Regions from separate parts of the Homo sapiens genome. Here regions 1, 3 and 4 are each linked to region 2. Evidence: promoter capture Hi-C in 16 types of primary human blood cells and fetal thymus (Javierre and others, 2016). All regions are on one chromosome and are shown on one strand. The core of a region is centred on a gene start or on the middle of the fragment in contact, and the rest is flanking DNA. Distances in the headings are between cores, read along the strand shown. Region 1 overlaps MUC16 (mucin 16, cell surface associated). Region 2 holds the start of ACTL9 (actin like 9). Region 3 has its middle 2.8 kb from the start of OR7G3. Region 4 overlaps OR1M1 (olfactory receptor family 1 subfamily M member 1).

Region 1 (2,895 bases), core at 106-2,605, 300 kb after region 2:
TGGGATTACAAGGTGTGAGCCACTGTGCCCAGCCCAAATCATCTCTTGAAGACTCATTTTCTTTCCTTCCTAAAATCAAGCCAATTGCAATCTTCCCAGAGCAGGAAACAAAATGCACAGTGGGAGGAAAATGAAAGAAGTGGACTCAGTGGGACTCAAGTCCCAATTACTCACTGTGTGATCTGGGGCAAGTCACTTAACCTCTCTGAGCCTTGTCTCCTCATATGCCCAACGGGGATAACAGCAGAGGGCTGTTGAGATGATGCAGTGATGTGATCCACCATGCAGGGTGAAGGAATTAGGACTTAATAAACTCCTGTTACTGTTTTTTTTTGGGGCGGTGGGGCGGTTTTTTGTTGTCATTTTGTTTTTTTATTTTTGTTTTTTGTTTGTTTGTTTTGAGACGGAGTCTTGCACTGTCGCCAAGCTGGAGTGCAATGGCGTGATCTCGGCTCACTGCAACCTCTGCCTCCTGGGTTCAAGCAATTCTCCTGCCTCAGCCTCCCAAGCAGCTGGGACTACAGGTGTGCGCCACTACGCCTGGCTAATTTTTGTATTTTGAGTAGAGATGGGGTTTCACTGTGTTAGCCAGAATGGTCTTGATCTCTTGACCTCGTGATCCGCCTGCCTCAGCCTCCCAAAGTGCTGGGATTACAGGCGTGAGCCACCGCCCAGCCTGTTACTGGTTTTTATTATTTATTATTATTTAATTATTATTATTATTATTATTTATTTTATTATTACCTACCCACGGAGCTGATGAGTGACGCCGGGGAGGAAGGGTCGTGGGTCAACTGCCTGGTGGCTCCAAGTGTTCCTTGGTCTGTGGTTTGGGCAAAGACCACTGCGTCGAAAGGCAGCCCTGTGGAGGAAGAACCAAGTTGGTTATCCCAGCAGGAAGTAGAACGAAAAACATAAAAAAAAAATTTCTTCTGGACTTGCTCTTCTTTCCATAGGAATCTCTGCATAGTGACTCGTTCATTTACCATTTCATTTATTTAATATTTATTCCAGACCCTCAGTCACTCATTCATCCAACCAGCAAATATGTCTTGAGCACCTTTTATACGACAGCTGATTCTGAAACCAACCCGATAGTCTCATAGACAGTATTTATATACCTATTTAAATACTTGAAACTGACATTTGTTATTGTTTAACTATTTTAGGTTTGGGGCTACGTGTGAAGGTTTGTTATATAGGTAATCTCATGTCACGGGGTTTGTTGTACAAATGATTTTATCACCCAGGTATGAAGCCTAGTACCCAATAGTTATTTTTTCTGCTCCTCTCTCTCCTCCTAACGCTTACCATGAAGTAGACCCCAGTGTTTTTTATTCCCTTCTTTGTGTTCATGAGTTATCATCATTTAGCTCCCACTTCTAAGTGAGAACATGCAATATTTGGTTTTCTGTTCCTGGGTTAGTTTGCTAAGGATAATGGCCTCCAGCCCCATCCATGTTCCCGCAAAAGCAATGATCTTGTTCTTTTTTATGGCTGCATAGTATTCCATGGTGTATATGTATCACATTTGCTTTATCCAATCTGTCATTGATGGGCGTTTAGGTTGATTCCATTGTCTTTGCTATTGGGAATAGTGCTGCAATGAACATTCACGTGTATATGTCTTTATGGTAGAATGATTTATATTTCTCTGGGTATATACCCAATAATGAGATTGCTGGGTCAAATGGTAGTTCTACTTTTAGCTCTTTGAGGAATTGCCACACTGCTTTCCACAATAGTTGAACTAATTTACACTCCCACCAACAGTGTATAAATGTTCAATTTTCTCCACAACCTTGCCAGCATCTGTTATTTTTTGACTTTTTAATAATAGCCATTCTGACTATGGTGAGATGCTATCTCATTGTGGTTTTGATTTGCATTTCTTTAATGATCAGTGATAGTGAGCATTTTTTTCATATGCTTCTTGGCTACATGTATCTCTTCTTTCAAAAAGTGTCTGTTTTTTTTGTTTTTTGGTTTTTTTTTTTTGATACAGTGTCTCACTCTGTCGACCAGGCTGGAGTGCAGTAGTGATCGCGCCTCACAGCAACCTCCGCCTCCCAGGTTCAAGTGATTCTCCTGCCTCAGCCTCCTGAGTAGCTGGGATTACAGGCGTGCACCACCGTGCCCGGCTAATTTTTGTATTTTTAGTAGAGACAGGGTTTCACCATGTTGGTCAGGCTGGTCTCGAACTCCTGACATAGTGATCTGCCCGCCTTGGCCTCCCAAAGTGCTGGGATTGCAGTTGTGAGCCACCGTGCCCGGCCTTTGCCCACTTTTTAATGGTGTTGTTTGTTTTTCTCTTGTAAATTTACTTAAGTTCTCTATAGATGCTGGATATTAGACTTTTGTCAGGTGCATAGTTTACAAATATTTTCTCCCATTCTGTGGGAAACTTACATTTGTTTTATCTGAGTTCCTTCCTCATTAAAGGACCCCCAGTCCTCTCAAAAAGTATCAAAGAAAAGAAACTCAGCAGATCATCATATCCAGACAATGAGATGTCAGACCCCTCATTCCTCATGATTGCTTCCTGACCCCTCTTGATTTCCTGTTTTACTACACGTAGTCACATTTCTTCCCTGCTATATAAACCTGTAATTTTAGTTGGTCAGGGAGATGGATTTAAGACTGAGCTCCCATTTTCTCACTGCAGCCAAGGAGATTAAAGTCTTCTTCCTTGGTAATAATCGTTGTCTCAGTGATTGACTTTCTGTGTGGTGAGCAGCAGGACCTAGCCTGGACCCCTGGTGTTTTGGCAACAATTCCAAGTTTGGGGCACAGAGTGAGGAACAAGACAAGTCTTTACTCCCTCAAAAAGTTTATGTCCAGAACAGAAAACCAAATACTGCATGTTCTCACTCATAAGTGGGAGTTGAACAATGA
Region 2 (2,848 bases), core at 275-2,774:
GGTGGGTTTAGGGGGTCAGGATTGGGGTGTCTCAGGGCATGCATCACAGGAGGTGAGTTAGGTCAGCCTGTGGGGCGAGGTGCCCAGGAGTGGATGGGGCAGGCCCTGGAGGAAGGACAGGACAGAGCCGGCTGTAGCAGAGGCTTTACTGCCCCCACGCCCTCCCCAGCTCTGCCCTGGTCAGTAGCATTTGCGGTACACGATATAGGGACCCTGTTCCTCGTACTGCTCCCGCAGGACCCAGCAGGACTGGAAGGCGCGCAGGGAGGCCAGGATGGAGCCCCCGATCCATACGGAGAAATTCCTGGTGGGCTGGGCAGCCACCACCACGTGGGTCTCGGCTGGCAGAGCGCGCAGCAGCTCTGCCCGGAAGCGACCCTCGAAGCCGGTGAAGAGCGAGGACCCACCGCAGAGAAGCACGTTTTGGGCCAAGTCCGCGCGCATCTCCAGTGACAACTTGCGGAGACTCTGCTTGGCCATGGTGGAGAGGCCGACGGGTGACAGCCCCGGGACCTCTGGGGGGTTGAACAGCAGCTCCGGACACTGGAACAGCTCCTTGCCCAGGGTGACCGTGCGCCCATCGGGCAGCTTCAGAGTCCGCTTGTACTCCTGCTCCGGCCGGGCCTGCTCCTTCTGGAAGTCGGAGGCCACGTAGCAATAGTGGTGCTTAATGTTCTCCACTAGGTCCAGGTCCTGCTGTCCCAGGGGCAGGCCGGCCTGGAGCAGCATCTCCGCCAGGAAGGCGGTCAGGTTGTTGCCCGCCAGGTCCAGACGCTCCGTGGCGTGGAGCAGGTTGTAGCCCTGGAAGACGGGCACTGTGTAGGTGACCCCGTGTCCCGTGTCCACCACCAGCCCGCTGACACGACCGTGGGCGTAGACAGACAGCACCGACTGCGATGCCACGTACATGGCTGGGGAGCGCAGCGACTCGAAGGCCACCTCCACTAGCTTCTCGCGGTTGGTGGCCGGGCTGAAGGGTGGGTCGGAGAACAGCAGCGGGTGGTCGTGGGTGGCCACTCGGAGGTCGTGCTCCAGCAGGTGGCGCCAGATGAGCTCGGCGGCATCCCAGTCCACGACGATGCCGCTGCGCAGGGGTTGCACCAGCGTCAGCTCTGGGAGCACGCGGGCTGCCTCGCCGATGAACGTCTGCAGCCCGGACTGCCCCGAGGTGGCGGGTTTCTTGGGCTGGCAGCCCAGGATGGTGGCCACGGTGTAGGTGGGGCTGGCCTGCCCAGCAAAACCTACCTTACAGGTGCCTGTGCCCATGTCAATAACCACCGCGCCGGTCTTTGGTGGCAGCCTGTCGGCCACCATGCCGGGGGAGTCCCGCTGCAGGGGCTTGTTCACCACGTTGGGACTGGGGTTTGGGCCGGGCCTGGGGGCCTCCAGGGAGGACTGGGATTCCGAGGACTTGGGGCGACTTGCATCCATGGTTGCGGGACGCCAGGTGAGGGGGCTTTTCCTCTGGGGTTGGGGTTGCGGGGAGAAGAGGTTGAGGCCCGGCCAGTGGGGAGGGCAGGCAGACAGGGGGAGGGGTGGGCCCGCAATCTATGACGTCACGGTGCCCCTTCAGTCTTCTTAAGACATCACAATGCAGCCAAGAGGATGGGTCCCTGCCCAGCCCTGCCTGCCCAAAGGCTGTCATCTCTTCTCTGAAGAGCCAAATTTGGAGGAGGAGATGAGCATCTCAGAGCAGGGCCCTCTTAACACATTTCTGTCGGATGCGCTAGAAGCTAATACGATGGCACCTGGTTTTTGAGAAAAGACAAGCTTTTTGTTGCATGTCAACCCACTGGGAGCTAGGAATCCAGCACAAGTCTGTTTCTCAGCTGGCTTTAAGGCAGTAATTTTATTAGAAAAGTTCTGGGGCCGGGGGCTGTGGCTCACACCTGTAATCCCAGCACTTTGGGAGACCGAGGTGGGAGATCACCTGAGGTCAGGAGTTCGAGACCAGCCTGGCCAACATGGTGAAACCCGTCTCTACCAAAAAATACAAAAATTAGCCTGGCATGGTGGCGCATGCCTGTGGTCCCAGCTACTGGGGAGGCTGAGGCAGGAGAATCACTTGAACCCAGGAGGTGGAGGTTGAAGTGAACCAAGATCATGCCACCGCACTCCAGGCTGGGGGATGGAGTGAGACTCTGTCTCAAAAGAAAAAGAAAATAAAAGAAAAAAAATTAGCCAGGCATGGTGGCACATGCCTGTAGTCCCAGCTACTAGGGAGGCTGAGGCAGGAGAATCTCTTGAACCCGGGAGGTGGAGGTTGCAGCGAGCCAAGATCATGCTACTGCACTCCAGCCTGTATGACAGAGCGAGACTCATCTCAAAACAAACAAACAAACAAACAAAGAAACAAACAAAAAACCCTCATAAGTGGAAGGCATTTCAGCAAGTTGTTTCTTTTTTGATCTGCCATTCTGCAAGCTCAAACATTTCTTTGGGGCATGGTTTCACTAAAAACATGCAAAATTGGTTTCTCTAACTCTTTGGGCCACGCTTTCAGGAAGACCCAGGAATCCTCCTCTGGGTACCTCGCCATGAAGCTATTTACAGCCTAGTGGCAGAGAGCTTGCCACAGGCCTCCCTAGAATATTAGAATATTCCTCCTCAGAATATTAATTAGAAGGTGGGGCGGGCTAGCATGGCTTCCTGGTTTCCAAATGGAGACAGAGGCCAGCCTTGGTTGGGGATGGAGAGAGGCAGGGAGAGACAGGAACACCCCTGTCCTAGATTCTTTGCTTCCTCTGCTATATTCACTGCCTGAATCATTCTCCCTGTCCCATTCCTGCCAAGAAGGAATTTGCCTCTTCAAATCTCAGTCTGATGCCACCTCCTCCTGGAAGCCAAC
Region 3 (2,892 bases), core at 388-2,887, 430 kb after region 2:
CCGGATAATTTTTGTATTTTTAGTAGAGACAGTGTTTCACCATGTTGGGCAGGCTGGTCTTGAACTCCTAACCTCGTGATCCACCCGCCTCGGCCTCCCAAAGTGCTGGGATTACAGGCATCAGCCACCGTGCCTGACTGCAGTAGCCATTATTTTATTCTGATTTTATGAGATCAGCTCTTTTGGATTCTACACATGGTTGAGATCATGCAGTATTTGTCTTTCTGTACCTGGCTTATTTCACTTAGCATAATGTTCTCCAGGTTCCTCCATGTTGTGGCGAATGACAGAATTTCCTTCTTTTTAAAGGGTGCATAGTACTCTATCATATACCACATTTTCTTTTTCTTTTCCAGACAAAGTCTCACTCTGTTGCCCAGGCTAGAGTGCAGTGGTGCGATCTCGGCTCACTGCAACCTCCGCCTCCTGGGTTCAAGTGATTCTCCTGCCTCAGCCTCCTGAGTAGCTGGGATTACAGGCATACGTCATCATGCCTGGCTAATTTTTGTATTTTTAGTGGAGACACGGTTTCACCATGTTGGCCAGGCTAGTCTTGAACTCCTGACCTCAAGTAATCTACCTACCTCAGGCTCCCAAAGTGCTGGGATTACAGGCGTGAGCCACCGTGCCTGCCATACCACATTTTCTTTATCCACTTATATGTTGATGGACATTCAGGTTGATTACATTTCCTGGCTATTGTGACTAATACTGCAATGAACATGAGAGTGCAGATATCTCTTCAGCATATTGATTTCAATTCCTTTGAAATTCAACAGCACAAACATAAATCAATATAACTATAGATAGTCAACCTAAATAACAGAAAGAGGCTATCTAAAAGAAAATGATGTTTATTGCCAAAGAAAGCATTGCAATAGCGATACGCGTGCCATCATAAACTATGTATGCATTCAAGGAGGTAAAGGAAGACAAAGTTTTTTAATGGAAAAATGAGGAAGGTTACATAATTGTTTTGAAATAATTATCCTTCACAGTAATAACTAATAACAAGGGTGATGCCAGTCTGAAGCTGGACAGGCAGTTGCTGGGCAGATGTACTTGCAGAAATATTTTTTGTGTAAGGTTGCAACAGCCTTTTGTGCAAGGTTGTGGTTTTTGTCGTCTCGTGATAGTTTTTGTCGTCTCGTGATAGTTTTTGTAGTCTTGTGATAGTTTTTGTTATTAGGCATGCAAGTGAAATAAATCTCTTCATGGCCTTCCCTAGCTTTACTTGTCAGGATGTTTTTGTTTTTTTCATTTTTGTTTGTTTGTTTGTTTTTCATGAGATGGAGTCTTGCTCTGTCGCCCAGGCTGGAATGCAGTGGTGCGATCTTGGCTCACTGCAACCTCCGCCTCCCAGGTTCAAGCGATTCTCATGCCTCAGCCTCCTGAGTAGCTGGGATTACAGATATGCGCCACAACGTCTGGCTAATTTTTGTATTTTTCATAGAGATGGGGTTTCACCATGTTGGCCAGGCTGGTCTCGAACTCCTGACCTTGTGATCCGCCCACTTCAGCCTATCAAAGTGCAGACTTTTTTGATAGCCGCTACACCCAGCCTTTTTTTTTTTTAATAAGTGACTCCATTTTGATTCTGACAATTTTAACAATATATATACCAAGTACAGTCAGCCTTCCATATCTGCCAGTACCACATTCATGGACTCAACCAACTGTGGATCAAAAATATTAAAAATATTAAAGAAAATTTTAAAAATATTAAATAAGAATATTACAAAAATACAATATTAAGTAATACAACTATTTACATAGGATTAACATTATGCTAGGTAATATAAGTAATCTAGAAATGATTTAAAGTATAGGCGACCTGGGCACAGTGGCTCACACTGCTTAATCCCAGCACTTTGGAAGGCTGAGGCAGAAGGATTGTTTGAGGCCAGGAGTTTGAGGCTGCAGTGAGTTATAATCACACCACTGTAGTTCAACCTCGGCAACAGAGCAAGGCTCTCTCTAAAAAAGAAATTAATCATTTAATATTAAAATTAAAAATTAATTACTTGATTTTTAAATTGTAAATAAATTACTTAATTTTTAAATTAAAAATAAATTAGCTAGCTGGGCATGGTGGCTCATGCCTGTAATCCCAGCACTTTGGGAGGCTGAGGCGGGCAGATTACCTGAGGTCAGGAGTTCAAGGCCCGCCTGGCCAACATGGTGAAACTCTGTCTCTACTAAAAATACAAAAATGAGCCAGGCACAGTAGCAGGCGCCTGTAATCCCAGCTATTCAGGAGGCTGAGGCAGGAGAATCGCTTGAGCCCCAGAGGTGGAGGTTGCAGTAAGCCGAAATTGAGCCACTGCACTCTAGACTGGGCGACAGAGCAAGACTCTGTCTCAATAAATAAATAAATAAATAAATAAATAAATAAGTTTTTAAATTTTTAATTAAATTTAATTTTTTTTAAAAAAAGACTTAGTATTGGATAGACCAGTAGGGTGACTATAGTTCAAAATAATCCATTGTATATTTCAAAATACCTAGAAGAGAACAATTGGAATGGTTGGAGCATAAAGATAAGACAAATATTTAAGGTGATGGATATCTAAAGTAACAAATCCTTGCAGATTATACAAATGTATTACACTATCACATGCATCCTGAAACAATGTACATCTCTTATGCATTGATACAAAAATTTAAAAAAAGCCAGGTGTGGTGGCATGCACCTGCAGTCTCAGCTACTCGTCAGGCTGAGTCCAGAGGATCGCTTTAGCCCAGGAATTCGAGGCAGCAGTGAGCTGTGATCACACCACTGCACTCCAGCCTGGGCAACAAAGTGAGAGACTGTCTCAAAAATCAATTAGTCAGTCAATCAATCCAAAAAGAACTCAAGTCCACGTGGTCCGATTCCAAAACTATCACCCT
Region 4 (3,109 bases), core at 442-2,941, 400 kb after region 2:
GCCTCTGTCGCCTGCTGGTCGGCGCCCTCTGGGCGTTTTCCTGCTTCATCTCACTCACTCACATCCTCCTGATGGCCCGTCTCGTTTTCTGCGGCAGCCATGAGGTGCCTCACTACTTCTGCGACCTCACTCCCATCCTCCGACTTTCGTGCACGGACACCTCTGTGAATAGGATCTTCATCCTCATTGTGGCAGGGATGGTGATAGCCACGCCCTTTGTCTGCATCCTGGCCTCCTATGCTCGCATCCTTGTGGCCATCATGAAGGTCCCCTCTGCAGGCGGCAGGAAGAAAGCCTTCTCCACCTGCAGCTCCCACCTGTCTGTGGTTGCTCTCTTCTATGGGACCACCATTGGCGTCTATCTGTGTCCCTCCTCGGTCCTCACCACTGTGAAGGAGAAAGCTTCTGCGGTGATGTACACAGCAGTCACCCCCATGCTGAATCCCTTCATCTACAGCTTGAGGAACAGAGACCTGAAAGGGGCTCTCAGGAAGCTGGTCAACAGAAAGATCACCTCATCTTCCTGACCACCAGGACTCAGGAACTTCTGGGGGGTAGAATATATACATCTGGGAGTCTTGGGCTAACATCTGGAATTGCATGAGTTGAAGAGTAGGCACTTTGAATTTTATTATTATTATTATTATTTAGAGATGGGGTCTCACTATGTTGCCCGTGCTGGAGTGCAGTGGCGTGATCATAGATCACTGCAGCTTCAAACTTCTCTCTCTGTGTGCATTGTTTTACTAGAGACAGGGTCTCACTAATTTGGCCAGGCTGGTCTGGAACTCCTGGGCTCAAGCAGTACTTCCCCCTCAGCCTCCTAACATCCTAGGATTACAGGTGTGAGCTACCACGCCGAGCCTCACTTTGAATTTTTTGTTTGTTTTTGTTTTTTGAGACAGAGTCTCGTTCTGTTGCCCAGGCTGGAGTGCAGTGGCATGATCACGGCTCATTGCAGCCTTGACCTCCCTGGCTGAAGCAATCCTCCCACCTCAGCCTTCCGAGTAGCTAGGACCATAGGCACATACCACCATGCTCAGCTAATTTTTGTATCTTTTGTACAGACAGGGTTTTGCCATACTACCCAGCCGCAGAAGTTTCACGGGAAGTCTCAGGATGGTCTGGTAACTGTTTTTCTTTTTGTTTTCTTTTTTGTTTTTGAGACAGAGTCTCATTCTGTCACCCAGGCTGGAGTGCAATGGCATGATCTCTGCTCACTGCAACCTCCGCCTCTGGGTTCAAGTGATCCTCCTGCCTCACCCTCCAGACTAGCTGGAACTACAGGCACCCATCACCATACCCGGCTAATTTTTGTATTTTTGGTGGAGACAGGGTTTTACCATGTGGGCCAGGCTGTTCTCGACCTCCTGACCTCAAATGATCCACCCACCTTGGCCTCCCAAAGTGCTGGGATTACAGGCGTGAGCCACCAAGCCTGGCTGGAAAGGCCATTTGAGGACACAGCGAAAGGGGGTCTATCTGCCACGGAAGAAAGACTTCACCAAAAACCAATCCCAACGGCACGTCGATCTTGGGCTTCTGACCCTCAGAACCATGAGACAATCCACTTCACTTATTTAGCCACGCAGTCTGCGGTGTTTTGTTATAACCAGCCCTGGCCGAATAACACAGTGACTGTGAGGGGAGGAGTCTTAGGAAGATGTCAACACGTGAAGGAGTGAAATGCCGCCATGTGGTTCTGTGGCTGGACCGACTCTGTCTCCAAACTCCGTTAGGAAAGATAATCATTCTGGGGCTCTGTTGCCCAGGCTGGAGTGCAGCGGCATGATTATAGCTCACTGCAGTCTTGACCTCCTGGGCTCAAGCAGTCCTCCCACCTCAGCCTCCCAAGTAGTTGGGACCAGAGGCATGCAGCACCATGCCCGGCTAATTTATTTTTATTTGTATATATTTTTTTGGTAGAGATGGGGTCTCACTATGTTGTCCAGGCTGCTCTCAAACTCCTGAGCTCAAGCCATCCTCCCATCTCAGCCTCTCAAAATGCTGGGATTACAGGTGTGAGCCACCACACCTGGCCAAAATTTTTTTTTTTTTTTTTTGAGACAGAGTCTCACTCTGTTGCCCAGGCTGGAGTGTAGTGGCACTATCTCAGCTCACTGCAACCTCCACCTCCTGGGTTCATGCAATTCTCCGCCTCAGCCTCCCCAGTAGCTGGGACTACAGGAGCGCACCACCACACCCAGCTAGTTTTTTTGTATTTTTAGTAGAGACGGGATTTCACCATGTTGGCCAGGCTGGTCTTGAACTCCTGACCTCAGGTGATCCACCTGCCTTGGCCTCCCAAAATGTTGGGATTACAGACATCAGCCACCACGCCTGGCCCAATCATTGTTTTTACCCCTTGTCTTTATATGAGTCACTAATAAAGCAGAAGTGTCCCGGGTGCTGTGGCTTACACCTGTAATCCCAGCACTTTGGGAGGCCAAGGCAGGCAGATCACCTGAGGTCAGGAGTTCAAGACCAGCCTGGCCAACATGGCAAAACCCCATCTCTACTAAAAATATAAAAATTAGTCAGGTGTGGTGGGGCGTGCCTGTAATCCCAGCTACTCGGGAGGCTGAGGCAGGAGAATCACTTGAACCTGGGAGGCGGAGGTTGCAGTGGGCCGAGATGGCACCACTGCAACCTGCACTTCAGCCTAAGGGATGGAGCGAGACTGTCTCAAAATAAATAAATAAATAAATAAATAAGTTGAAGTGTCTCAAGTTGATATAATGTGGATGTTTCTCTCCTCCAGATCTTATGTTGAAATGTGATCCCCAGTGTCGGAGGTGAGGCCTAGGCAGAGGTGTTTGATTATGGGGGCAGATTCATCATGAAGAATTTAGTGCCCTCCCCATAGTAATGAGGAAGTTCTTGCTCTACTACTTCACAAAGACCCTGGCACTCCTCCCCTCTCTCTCTTCCTCTCTCACCATTTGACTTGCCAGCTCCCCTTGCCCTTCCACCGTGATTGGAAGCTTCCTGAGGTCTGCACCAGAAGTAGATGATGGCACCACCCTTCTTGTACAGTCTGCAGAACTGTGAGACAAATAAACCTCTTTTCTTTATAAATTACCCAGACTCTAGGCTGGGCTCAGTGGCT

The links. The method cuts DNA at HindIII sites, captures the fragments that hold promoters and counts their contacts. A CHiCAGO score of 5 or more calls a contact.
Region 1: a fragment that was not itself captured here is called in contact with the fragment with the promoter of ACTL9 in region 2 in 1 of 17 cell types (M2 macrophages); the score reaches 6.5 in M2 macrophages.
Region 3: a fragment that was not itself captured here is called in contact with the fragment with the promoter of ACTL9 in region 2 in 1 of 17 cell types (endothelial precursors); the score reaches 6.4 in endothelial precursors.
Region 4: a fragment that was not itself captured here is called in contact with the fragment with the promoter of ACTL9 in region 2 in 3 of 17 cell types (endothelial precursors, M2 macrophages and erythroblasts); the score reaches 8.5 in endothelial precursors.

Annotation. Positions count from the first base shown.
Region 1 is chr19:8,993,247-8,996,141 of GRCh38, forward strand. MUC16 (mucin 16, cell surface associated) reads right to left here. Exons shown (of 94, transcript NM_001414686.1): 3 at 749-862. Among named protein-coding and RNA genes, the nearest start is that of MUC16, 71 kb to the right of the region's middle. The HindIII fragment of the contact is 6,614 bases long and covers 1-2,895 here.
Region 2 is chr19:8,697,271-8,700,118 of GRCh38, forward strand. It overlaps ACTL9 (actin like 9), which reads right to left and starts at 1,525. Exons shown (of 1, transcript NM_178525.5): 1 at 130-1,525. The coding sequence starts at 1,431. The coding sequence ends at 181. The HindIII fragment of the contact is 13,278 bases long and covers 1-1,768 here.
Region 3 is chr19:9,122,661-9,125,552 of GRCh38, forward strand. No RefSeq gene overlaps it. Among named protein-coding and RNA genes, the nearest start is that of OR7G3, 2.8 kb to the right of the region's middle. The HindIII fragment of the contact is 3,883 bases long and covers 1-2,892 here.
Region 4 is chr19:9,093,660-9,096,768 of GRCh38, forward strand. It overlaps OR1M1 (olfactory receptor family 1 subfamily M member 1), which reads left to right. Exons shown (of 2, transcript NM_001004456.2): 2 at 1-2,010. The coding sequence ends at 527. Among named protein-coding and RNA genes, the nearest start is that of OR1M1, 8.2 kb to the left of the region's middle. The HindIII fragment of the contact is 2,582 bases long and covers 401-2,982 here.